2 separate regions of the Homo sapiens genome follow, and region 2 is linked to region 1. Evidence: promoter capture Hi-C in human tissues and cell types (Jung and others, 2019). All regions are on one chromosome and are shown on one strand. The core of a region is centred on a gene start or on the middle of the fragment in contact, and the rest is flanking DNA. Distances in the headings are between cores, read along the strand shown. Region 1 holds the start of COG7 (component of oligomeric golgi complex 7). Region 2 overlaps LOC105371143 (a long non-coding RNA gene).

Region 1 (6,126 bases), core at 1,861-4,360:
CCGTCCCCCCGCGCCCGCCCCCCCAAAAAAAAATTGCAAAGGAAAAAGTGTCTATTCACAGATGACATGATCCTGTATGTAAACAAATCCCAACCAACACCCCAACACACAAACTAGAAGACAAATTTAACAGTCAAATGGTACAAGATAAATCTATAAAAATCAATTGTTGCTGAGTGTGGTGGCTCACGCCTGTAATCCCAGCACTTTGGGAGGCTGAGGCAGGTGGATCACCTGAAGTCAGAAGTTCAAGACCAGCCTGGCCAACATGGCAAAACCTCGTCTCTACAAAAATTAGCTGGGTGTGGTGACACATGCCTGTAATCCCAGCTACTTGGGAGGCTGAGGCAGGAGAATTGCTTGAATCTGGGAGACGGAGGTTGCAGTGAGCTGAGATTGCCCTGCTGTACTCCAGCCTGTGTGACAAAGCAAGACTCCATCACACACACACACACAAAATCATTTTTCTGTAACAAGAAACTATGAAAATTAAGAAAATTCCATTCATGTTAGCATTAAAAGGAAATACTTATTTTATTTATTTATTTTTTGAGATGGAGTCTCACTCTGTCACCCAGGCTGGATAACAGTGGCCCGATCTCTGTTCACTGCAACCTTTGCCTCCCGGGTTCAAGCAGTTCTCCTGCCTCAGCCTCCTGAGTAGCTGGGATTACAGGTGCACACAACCACGCCAGGCTGTTTTTGTATTTTCAGTAGAGACGGGGTTTCACCATGTTGGGCAGGCTAGTCTTGTATGGAACTCCTGACCTTGTGATCCTCCTGCCTCGGCCTCCCAAAGTGCTGGGATTGCAGGCATGAGCCACTGCACCTAGAAAAGGAAATACTTATAAATAAATAAATTTAACAAAATAAGTGCAAGACTTGTATTATACAATGAAAACTACAAAATATTGCTGAGAGAAATTAAAGAAGATCTAAATCAGATCTAAATCCCCAGGGGTGATTCCTACTAGGGAACACTTGGCACTGTGTGGACAGATTTTTGGTTGCCACAACTTGGAGAGGATGTTGCTCCTAATGGGTAGCGGCCAGGGATGCTGCGAAATATCTTACAATGCATAGGACAGCCCCCATAACTAAAAATTATCTGGGCTCAGTAGTGCCAAGGCTGAAAAATTCCCATCTAAATAAATGAAGAGGCGTTTCATGCTATGGATTGGAACAGTCAATATTGTCATGATGGCAATTCTCCTAAAATTAATCCAACAATTCAACAGTTCAACATAATCCCTGTCAAAATCCCAGCAGGATTTTTTTTTTTTTTGGGGGGGATGGAGTCTCGGTCTGTTGCCCAGGCTGGAGTGCAGTGGCGGATCTCGGTTCACTGCAACCTCTGCCTCCTAGGTTCAAGCGATTCTCCTGCCTCTGCCTCCTGAGTGGCTGGGATTACAGGCGCGTGCCACCATGCCCAGCTAATTTTTTTATTATTAGTAGAGATGGGGTTTGACCATGTTGGTCAGGCTGGTCTCAAACTCCTGACCTCATCATCTGCCTGCCTCGGCCTCCCAAAGTGCTGGGATTACAGGCGTGAGCCACTGTGTCCTGCCTAAATTTTTAACAAGAGCAAAGTAAGAGGACTTACACTATCAGATTGCTCCCCTCGTCTCCCCTCCCTGCATTGCTCCCCTCCTCTCTCCTTCCCTCCTCTCCCCTCCCCCCAAATAACTGGGACTCCTAGCAGAAGGGTTACCCCAGTTAAAACCTACTCAACCCAGAAGAATGAGACAAACCAAGGGAGATGCCAATGAAAAACGAGTGACTATCAGGCCTGGAGATGGCAGCCAGCCACTCATACCCCAATGGCAGGCCAACCTGGAAAACTGTCCCCTGTAGGGTTTCCAAGGATGACATCTTGTCCTCCCCCTTGGGTTGGTCCCACTCTTGAAACAACATAAAAACTTAGAACCTAAAGAATACCCTCATACCTTCCCCTACCTTTTCTTCTTTTCTTTTCGAGACAGGGTCTCGCTCTGTCACCCAGGCTGGAGTGCAGTGGCGTGATCACAGCTCACTGCAGCCTCGACCTCCTGGGCTCAGGCAATCCTCTCACCCCAGCCTCTCGAGTAGCTGAGACTACAGGTGTGCGCCACCACACTCAGCTAATTTTTAATTTTTTTGCAGAGACGGGGTCTTCCTATGTTGCCCAGGCTGAGAAATTGTTTGTGATTATGGGTTATGCACAGATTTCTCAGCCGCAACACCAAAAGCATGATCCATAAAAAAAGGTGATAAGGAACTTAACAAACTTTAAAAGGTCTGCACCTCAAAACACATCATTAAGAAAATAATTAGTTAGGCCAGGCGCGGTGACTCACGCCTGTGATCCCAACACTTTGGGAGGCCGAGGCAGGCGGATCACCTGAGGTTGGGAGTTTGAGGCCAGCCTGGCCAGCGTGGTGAAACCCCATCTCTACTAATAATACAAAAAGTAGCCGGGCGTGGTGGCACGCGCCTGTAATCCCAGCTACTCGGGAGGCTGAGGCAAGACACTCGCTTGAACCTGGGAGGCGGAGGTTGCAGTGAGCCGAGATCGCGTCACTTCGCTCCAACCTGGGCGACAGAGCAAGACTCCGTCTCAGAAAAAAATAAAGAAAGAAAGAAAAAGAAAGAAATAGCCGGGCGTGTTGTCGCGCGCCTGTAGTCCCAGCTACTCTGGAGGCTGAGGTGGGAGGATCGCTGGAGCCCAGAAATTTGAGGCTGCAGTGAGCTGAGATCGTTCAATTGCCCAGGAATTTGAGGCTGTAGTGAGCAGAGATCGTTCAATTGCACTCCATTGCTGCCCACTGCGCTCCACTGTTGCCCAGGCTGTCCTAGAACTCCTGGCCTCAAGCGATTCTCCCGCGTCAGCTTCCTAAAGAGCTGGGATTACAGGCGCGAGCCACCGCGTAAATGCGCTAATGTATGTCAGGGCTTTATAGTAAGCATATAGTTTAGTCCTCGGCAAATGTTAGCAGACATGGGATATTTGTCGGTGCCGGGAGCTCTCAGTCCGGGGCGTTTTCCCACACCCACCTCTGCTCAGCGCTCCGGACGCCTGCAGTCACTATGGTAACGGCCAACGACTTCCGGAAGAAGAACGGCGGGCGGCGAGGGTCATTCCCAGCCGCAAACTGAGTGCGCTGAGCGGGGAAGCGCAAAGGGGCAAGTTACCCGTCCTGGCGTTTCTGGGGTTCGCCTCGGAGGCTAGCCTCGGTGCTCTCGCAGGCTCGCTCGCTTCTGCATCCCCGTTGCCGCCCGGAGCCAACTCTTAAGTTCTGGACGCCAGGCCTGAGGCAGTTCCGCCATGGACTTCTCCAAGTTCCTGGCAGACGACTTCGACGTGAAGGAGTGGATCAATGCGGCCTTCAGGGCCGGCTCCAAGGAGGCGGCGTCCGGGAAGGCGGATGGCCACGCAGCCACCCTGGTGATGAAGCTGCAGCTGTTCATCCAAGAGGTGAACCACGCCGTGGAGGGTGAGCCGCTCGGGGCCCTGGCCGCGGGACCCTCCCCTGCTCTCGGCTGGGCAGAGGTCACCGAACTTGCGTGAGGCACTCAGGTGGGCGGGGCACGCATGGACAGCAAATACCCTCGGCAAAAGAGCAAGCCCCGAACTCCTGATCACGTCAGCGGGAGTCTCAGCTGGGTGCCGGGCTGTCTTGAACACTTGCTAATTTTGGGTGTTGTTTTTCCTCCTCTGGCTGGGCTATAAGTTTCCTTTTTCTTTTCTTTCTTTCTCTTTGTTTTTTCTTTTGAAACAGGGTCTCTCTACAGTGGCTCGATCATAGCTCACTGCAGCCTCGAACTCCTGCACTCAAGCGATCCTCTCGCCTCTCGAGTCGCTAGGACTACAGGCGCGAGCCACCGCGCCCCACAAATTCTGTTTAAAAAAAAAATTGTAGAGATGGGATCTCACTGTGTTGCCAGGCTGGTCTCAAATTCAAATTCCTGGGCATAATGGGTTTTCCAGTCTTGGCCTCCCAAAGTACTGTGATTATACCTGTGAGCCACCACATCTGGCCTGAAGTTTCCTTTTGGAACTTAAAAGAGTGGATCTTATTGCAGTAGCTCTTCTCTAAATAATTCAATAGCAGATCTCTGGGATTCCCTTTTTATTATTATCCATAGGCACTGGAAGACAAGATGGATCTTTTTAAATGCTAGAAGTTTTAACCAGTTCTTAACATGTCTTTGTTGAGGCACCTTCCAGAATATAAGATAAAACAACTCCAGTTTCTGTTATAGTGACTTGAATCTCAGAGTCAAGAGCCCAGTGTCAAAGAAAATTGGCTTTGACTTTTTGTAATCTAGGAGCACGAGTCTGTGAGGTGTTTATTCAAAGAGTTAAAGAGCCTGTTTTGTACCAAACAATAAACTGTAAAAAGAAAAAAAAAGTGAATTTTGAGAGTATGAAAGAATAGCCAACAGATCCATATATCTGGAAAAAACGTATTATAGTATAGGTATAAGAGAATGACACAGATCTAGAAAACATTGTTTTAGTGGATTTTATTTCAGCTGAGGAAGATAGGCTGGTCTCAGTGGAGACTTAAACCTTTTTTTTTTTTTTTTTTTTGAGACAGGGTCTCATTCCTCATTCTGCTGCCCAAGCTGGAATGCAGTGATACCATCATAGTTCACTGCAGCCTCAAACTCTGGGTTCAAGCAGTCCGCTCGCCTCAGCCTCCCAAGTAACTGGAACTATAGGCATGTGCCACCATGCCTGGCTAATTAAAAAAAAAAATTTTTTTTTAGAGACAAGGTCGCACTATGTTGCCCAGGTTGATCTCAAATTTCTGACCTCAAGTGATCCTCCCATCTTGGCTTCCCAAAGCCCTAGGATTACTGGTGTGAGCCACCACGCCTGGCCTAAACCATTTGTTGAGGATAAGTTAAATTATAAAAAATAACATGCACTGGCAACCATTTCATGTAACTCCTCAACTTGACTTTTATTCACCGTGTGTTGATTCACTGTGTGTTGATTCAGTACGTACTGCACACAAGTCTCTCTCCTAGGCTCAGATGGAAAGACCAAACAGACTGCTTCCACTGGGAGTGGATAGTCCAAGAGATGTTCCCATTTTTGTTTGTTTTTTTGTTTTTTTTGAGACGAAGTCTCGCTCTTTCCCCCTGGCTGGAGTGCAGTGGCGCCATCTCAGCTCACTGCAACCTCCCCCTTCTGAGTTCAAGTTATTCTCCTGCCTCTACCTCCTGAGTAGCTGGGATTACAGGTGCGTGCCCCACCCCTGGCTAATTTTTGTATTTTTAGTAGAGATGGGGTTTCATGATGTTGGCCAGGCTGATCTTGAACTCCTGACCTCAGGTGATCCACCCACCTCGGCCTCCCAAAGTGCTGGGATTACAGGCATGAGCCACTGTGCCCGGCCAGATGTGCCCATTGTTTAAGAAAAGGTAGGGAGGGGGCTCTATTTCACTGCAGATTGTTTTCTTTCTTTCTTTTTTTTTTTGAGACAGGGTCTCACTTTGTCACCCAGGCTACAGTGCAGTGGTGTGGTCAGTGCTCACTGCAGCTTCACCTCTCGGGCTCGAGGAATTCTCCTGCCCCAGCCTCCTGAATAACTGGGACCACAGGCTTGTGCCACCATGCCAGATGGCACAATTTTTTGATTTTTTGTAGAGATGGGGTCTCACTATGTTGTCCAGGCTGGTCTCAAACTCCTGAGCTCAGGCGATCCTCCAGCCTTTGCCTCCTAAAGTGCTGGGATTACAGGCGTGAGCCACCGCGCCCAGCCCTTATTCTTTATTGTACCTTGCATCTTTTACTAATTATTGAGCATCTACTATGCATGTGTCCAGAAATGGGCAGTGGGGAGGAAAAGTTTATCTTGCTCGAGCTTGCTGCCTTTGGGGAAGATAGAAACAGTAAATTACAATGACGGATGGCTTTACTCAGAATAGAATCTGGAGTTGTGAGAACTGTCAGGAGGGTGCAGTTACTTCTTGTTTAGGAGAATCATAAAGCACTTGCCCTGTGTTAGACCTTGAAGGAAAACTTTGTAGGGCAAAGAGGAAAGGACATTAATAATAATATAATAGCAAATTGGCTGGGCGCAGTGGCTCATGCCTGTAATCTCAGCACTTTTGGAAGGCTGAGGCGAGAGAATC
Region 2 (6,126 bases), core at 2,047-4,546, 1.0 Mb before region 1:
TTGCACCTGGCCCCTAGTGTTCTTATCACAATTAAAAAATAAAAAAAGATGGCCAGGCATGGTGGTTTGCACCTGTAATCCCAGTGCTTTGGGAGGCTGAGGTTGGGGGGATTGCTTGAGGTCAGGAGTTTGAGACCAGCCTGGGCAACACAGTGAGACCCAGTCTATATTTTAAAAAAGAGAGAGAAAGATGGACTATATCACATCTGTTTCTTTGCATCCCATTTTTCATCTCCTCCACCTTCACTTTGTTTTACTTCTTGTCAGCCTCAAGTCTTGGGGATGGGGTTGAAGATTCTGTGGCTAGCCCAGGTCTGCCTTTCTGGGATACACTGCCTGTCCAGGGAAGTGCTGCCCAAGAGAAATGTCATCTGACCCACACATGTAATTTTAAACTTTCTGCTAGCCACATTAGAAAGGTAAAGAGAGGCCGGCGTGGTGGGACATGCCTGTAATCTCAGCACTTTGGGATGCCAAGGTGGGAGATTGCTTGAGCCGTTTAAGATGAGCCTAGGCAAAATGGTGAGACCCTGTCTCCACAAAAATAAATAAATAGCTGGGCATGGTGGCTCAAGCCCGTAATCCTAGCACTTTGGGAGGTGGAGGTGGGCAGATTGCCTGAGCTCAGGAGTTCAAGACCCACCTGGCCAACATGGTGAAAGCCCATCTCTACTAAAAAAATATAAAAATTAGCCGGGGGTGGTGGCGTACATCTGTAGTCCCAGCTATTTGGGAGGCTGAGGCAGGAGAATCGCTTGAACCTAGGAGGCAGAGGCTACAGTGAGCCGAGATCGTGCCACTGCACTCCAGCCTGGGTGACAGAGTGAGACTCTGTCTCAATAAATAAATAAATATGAGGCCAGGCACGGTGGCTCACGCCTGTGATCCTAGCACTTTGGGAGGCCGAGGAGGGCAGATTACTTGAGGCCAGAATTTTGAGAGCAGCCTGGAAAACATAGCAAAACCTGTCTCTACAAAAAATTAAAAAATTTTGAGACTCCGTCTCAAAAAAAAAAAAAAATTAGCTGACTGAGGTGGGAGGATGGATTCAGCCCAGGAGGCTGAGGCTGCAGTGAGATATGATCACACCACTGACTCCAACCAAAAAATAAAAGACACCCATGACAATTTTCTTTTTTTTTTTTCTTTTTTTTTTTTTGAGACGGAGTCTCGCTTTATTGCCTAGGCTGCTGGAGTGCAGTGGCACAATCTCATCTCACTGCAACCTCCAACCCCCTACCACGGGTTCAAGTGATTCTCGTGTCTCAGCCTCCAGAGTAGCTGGGATTACAGGTGCCCCCCACCACGCCCAGCTAATTTTTGTATTTTCAATAAAGAGGAGGTTTTGCCATGTTGGCCAAGCTGTTCTCAAACTCCTGACCTCAAGTGATCCGCCTGCCTCGGCATCCCAAAGTTTTGGGATTACAGGCGTGAGCCACTGTACCCGGCTGACAATTTTCATAATGTTTTATTTAACCCAATATGACTAAATTACTGTTACTTCAGTGTGCTATTAATATAAAACATCGTTATTTTCTTTTTCCATACTAAAGTTTTTTAAAATACTGGGGTGTAATTTATACTAATGATCCCAACTTAATGCAGACTGACCACATTTCAAGTGCCCAATGGCCACATGTGCCCATGGATACTGCAATGGACAGTGGAGCTCTAGAGCTCTGAACCTCTGTGTTCTGGGGTGACCTCACTCCCGTGACTAATGTCAGAAGATGGCTGTAAGGCCCAGGGCTATTTGTGTCCAGCTCCAACTTAATCTCTCCTGGGGAAATGAGCTTTGTTCTCTTTTAGTGGAGAATCTGTCCTTGGTTTGCCCATTGTGGGATGTTTTCTAGAGCACAGATGCTAATGTTGTTCTAAAAAACTGGGGTTCTTGGCCAGGTGAGGTGGGTCACACCTGTAATCCCAGCACTTTGGGAGGTTGAGGTGGGTGGATCACTTGGTCAGGAGATCGAGACTATCCTGGCTAACACGGTGAAACCCCATCTCTACTAAAAATACAAAAAATTAGCCAGGTGTGGTGGTGGGCGCCTGTAGTCCTAGCTATTCAGGAGGCTGAGGCAGGAGAATGGCGTGAACCCGGGAGGCGGAGCTTGCAGTGAGCTGAGATCGCGTCACTGCACTCCAGCCTGGGCAACAGAGCGAGACTCCATCCCAAAGAACAAAACAAAACAAAACAAAACTGGGGTTCTTCATCAGGCAAGTAACAAAGACTCTTTATAGGGATGTAGGTTTGGATCAATAGGAGTTTTATTACTTGATACAAGTAAAGGAGAACATTGAGAGTATTCTCCAAAGCAGTGTCTTCCCAAGGGAAAGTGATAGGCGAGTTTTATGGGGTAATAGAGAAGGGAGAGGGTGCAGCATTGCGTGTAGTGGGGTCTCAGTTGTGCAGATGCGCTGAGCTATCATGCCAGCACATAGGTTGCATGTTAAGGTAATGAAGCTATAGCTCCTCTGGGGGTGGAGACTTTAGCATGGTAATGAGGAATGTTCACTTGGGTTCATCTGTAAGTTGTGGGAGTCTGCCAGGAGCTGGTTTTAACTGATTAGGTGACTGCATTCCATACAAGGTTTAGGAAGAAAAGGACTTCAGGGCAGGAGGCTATAAAACAGGCTGATTGCTCAAGTTCATTAAATTCTTGTAATCTCTGGAGACCCTCCCTATCTGCTTACACTAAGTAAACCTGACCTGCATGTTAGCATGGAGAGCAGAGGATGCTATGTATTCATTTAAAAATCATGTATTGAATATGTCATAAGCTCAAGATTCTGTTCTAACATGCAGTTCAGGCTCCTGGGGGATGGGACCAAAGCCTCAGTGTTTTTTTTTTTTTTTTTTTGAGACAGAGTCTCACTCTGTCACCCAGGCTGGAGTGCATTGGCACGATCTCAGCTCATTGCAACCTCTGCCTCCCAGGTTCAAGCAATTCTTGTGCCTCAGCCTCCTGAGTAGCTGGGATTACAAGCATGTGGCACCATGTCCAGCAATTTTTTTGTATTTTGGATTTCACCATCTTGGCCAGGCTGGTTTCGAACTCCTGGCCTCAGGTGATCCACCTGCCTCAGCCTCCCAAAGTGCTGGGATTACAGGTGTGAGCCACGTGCCGGACCTCAGTCTTTAGGATCAAAAGCGAAAGTCCCTGCCCTTGTGGAGCTTTCATTCCTTGGAGGGAAACAGGGAGGACAGGGAGTGCAGCTGGGGCTGAGGTGGTGTGCAAAGACCTCTCAGTAGTGATGTGACATTTGAATAAACACGAGAAGGAACTGAAGGATTGATAAGGGATGGGGAGGAAGCTGAGGAGTCAGTCTCCCTGGGTTCAGATCCTGGCTTCAGAGACTTCAGTTTTCAACCATGGCAGACTGGGAGGGACCAGATTTACTCTCTTGCTTTAAACAACTCAAAAACCCGATGACATATATGAAACAATAATTTCCGGACATTGAACCACAGATAGCACAATACAGAGATCCTGAAAGAAAGGAAATAGCTAAGTCTTTTGATGGCCACAGGTCTTGATGCAGAGAGGAGAAACACAACAGAATACGACAGTGTCCCTGCATTGAGAGTCTGGGGAGGCCAAGGCAAGGGAGTGAACCACACAGAAAGGATTTTGGAGCTGTTTAGAGCATTCCCCTCCATTTCTTAGCTGAGTACTGATCAGTACACGCCTGTGAAGAAACTCCCAGAGGCCAAGGAAAGACCACCAAGAAGGACCAGGTGGAGCTCACATAGGATCGGGAATTGTGTTCTTACTGACCAGAAAGGAAAGACCTCTCCATGAGTCCATTTTGCATTGCTCCAAAGGAATACCTGAGGCTAGGTAATTTATAAAGAAAAGAGGTTTATTTGGCTCAGGATTCTCAGGATTCTGTATAAGCAGCATGGCACCAGCCTCTGCTCAGCTTCTGGTGACAGGAAGCTTTCAGTTATGGCGGAAGGTAAAAAGGGAGTAGGCACATCACATGGTGAGAGAGGGAGCAAGAGAGAGAGGAGGAGATGCCAGGCCCCTTTAAACAACCAGCTTCTGCATGACCTAACAGAGTGAGAACTTTTTCATGGCCACGGGGAGTGCACCAAGCCATTTGTGAGGGATCTGCTCCCGTGACTCAAACACCTCCACTAGGCCCCACCTCCAACACTGGGGATTGCATTTCAGCATGAGATTTGGAGGAAACACATATCCAAACCATATCAGCCTCCTCATATATGGGACATTGAATGGAGTCCTGAGAAGGATATTGTCTCACTGGTGGCCAAATTAACTTTAGACTAGAGGCTGTTTTGGACCTGGCTAACAGTCTGAAAAGCAAGCCTTGAAAGTTTCATACTGTTTCGCATAACTTAAATGCATGCTAAAACAAAACTCCCAAATATTTATGGGAATATAAAAAATGTCGGCACTCAGCAATGTAGAATTCATAATGTTTGAAGTCCAGTAAAAAGTTACCAGGCATGCAAAGAAGCAGAAAAGTAGGACCCAATCGTGAAAAAAAAATCATCCAATAGAAACAGAACCAAAGATGTTACAGATGATAGAATTAGTAGATAAGGACATTAAAACAGCTATTAGAAATATGCTCTATACAGGGAATAGATGCACAGAAAGAGCAGAGACTCCTGAGGGAGGGGCTGGGCTTTCCAGGAGAGACATGGAGAGGGCTCCCCAGGCCTCAGAGCTGTCTTGATTCTAGCACCAACCACATGGACTCTTACAATTAGTCCCTATTTTCTTGAGACAGTTGGAGAGATCTTTGTTCTTATGATCAGCAAATCCTGAATAAAGCCACTTTCAGTTTAGAGGAAAAAAAAAAAAAGAAATATACTCAAGAAGATGGAGGCCTGAGCATGTTAATGAGAGATATAGGAGACAGAGAAAAAAGACCCAAATTAAACTTCAAGAGATGACAGTACAATGGTGGAGCAAATAGCAAATTAGACACTATGAAGGCATAGGCTATGGGAAATATTCAGACACAGAGAAAAAAGACTAAAGAAAAAAAAGTCACACACGCACACAAAGAACAGAGCCTCTGTTCTCTGCAGTGGCTCATGCCTGTAATCCCAGCACTTTGGGAGGCTGAGGCAGGCAGATTACTTGAGGCCAGGAGTTCAAGATCAGCCTGGCCAATGTGGCAAAAACCCTTCTCTACTAAAAAAATAAAAAATTAGCTGGGCATGGTGGTGCATGCCTATAGTCCCAGCTACTTTGGAGGCTGAGGCAGACAATTAGTTGAACCTGGGAGGTGGTGGTTGCAGTGAGCTGAGATTGTGCCACTGCACTCCAGCCTGAGCAGCAGAGTAAGACTCTGACTCAACCCCCTCCCAATGCCAAAAAAAAAAAAAAAAATCTATGATAAAGTTTGGTCAACATCAGGTGCTCTAATATATGTATAATCGGAGTCTCTGAAGGAGAGGTGAGAAGTAAGAGGAATAGAAAATGTATTTGAAAAAATAACAACTGAACACTTTTCAAATTTCATAAAAAGGTATAAACCCACAGTTATGAGAATCTCAAGGAACCCAAAACAGATCTTGCATCGAATACTTGCTTTGTAACTGTGGGCAAGTTACTATGTTGTCTGAGGCCACATTTCCTCATCTGTTGTAATAACAAATCTTGTATGGAGCACCCTTGACATAAGTGATTCCACCTTAGAAAAAAGTCCAGGTTGGCCAGGTGCAGTGGCTCATGCCTGTAATCCCAGCACTTTGGGAGGCCGAGGCGGGCAGATTACCTGAGGTCAGGAGTTTGAGATCACCCTGGGCAACACGGTGAAATCCCATCTCTACTAATAATACAAAATTAGCTGGGTGTGGTGACACATGCCTGTAATCCCAGCTACTTGGGAGGCTGAGGCAGGAGAATTGCTTGAACCTGGGAGGCGGAGGATGCGATGTGCCGAGATCGCGCCATTGCACTCCAGCCTGGGTGACAAGAATAAATCTCCGTCTCACCAAAAAAAAAAAAAAGGAAAAAAGTCCAGGTAACTTTTCAAAACACATTAAGGCAACAGGGTCCAGATGTTCTCTTAATCAATAGAGACAAAACCCAACCAGATAAGGGCATCACCCTTTACTATCAGTTCTCACCTGAGGACTCAAAG

What was found. The method cuts DNA at HindIII sites, captures the fragments that hold promoters and counts their contacts. A contact is called where the count stands out against the background at its distance.
Region 2: a contact is called between a fragment that was not itself captured here and the fragment with the promoter of COG7 in region 1, in 1 of the 25 tissues and cell types used here (lymphoblastoid cells).

Annotation. Positions count from the first base shown.
Region 1 is chr16:23,450,173-23,456,298 of GRCh38, reverse strand. It overlaps COG7 (component of oligomeric golgi complex 7), which reads left to right and starts at 3,110. Exons shown (of 17, transcript NM_153603.4): 1 at 3,110-3,473. The coding sequence starts at 3,305. LOC124903667 (a long non-coding RNA gene) reads right to left here and starts at 3,556. Exons shown (of 2, transcript XR_007065030.1): 1 at 3,034-3,556; 2 at 510-829. RefSeq lists enhancers at 2,781-2,830, 3,121-3,450. The HindIII fragment of the contact is 22,477 bases long and covers 1-6,126 here.
Region 2 is chr16:24,487,519-24,493,644 of GRCh38, reverse strand. The region is part of intron 1 of LOC105371143 (a long non-coding RNA gene); the gene reads left to right. Among named protein-coding and RNA genes, the nearest start is that of RBBP6, 49 kb to the left of the region's middle. The HindIII fragment of the contact is 4,487 bases long and covers 1,053-5,539 here.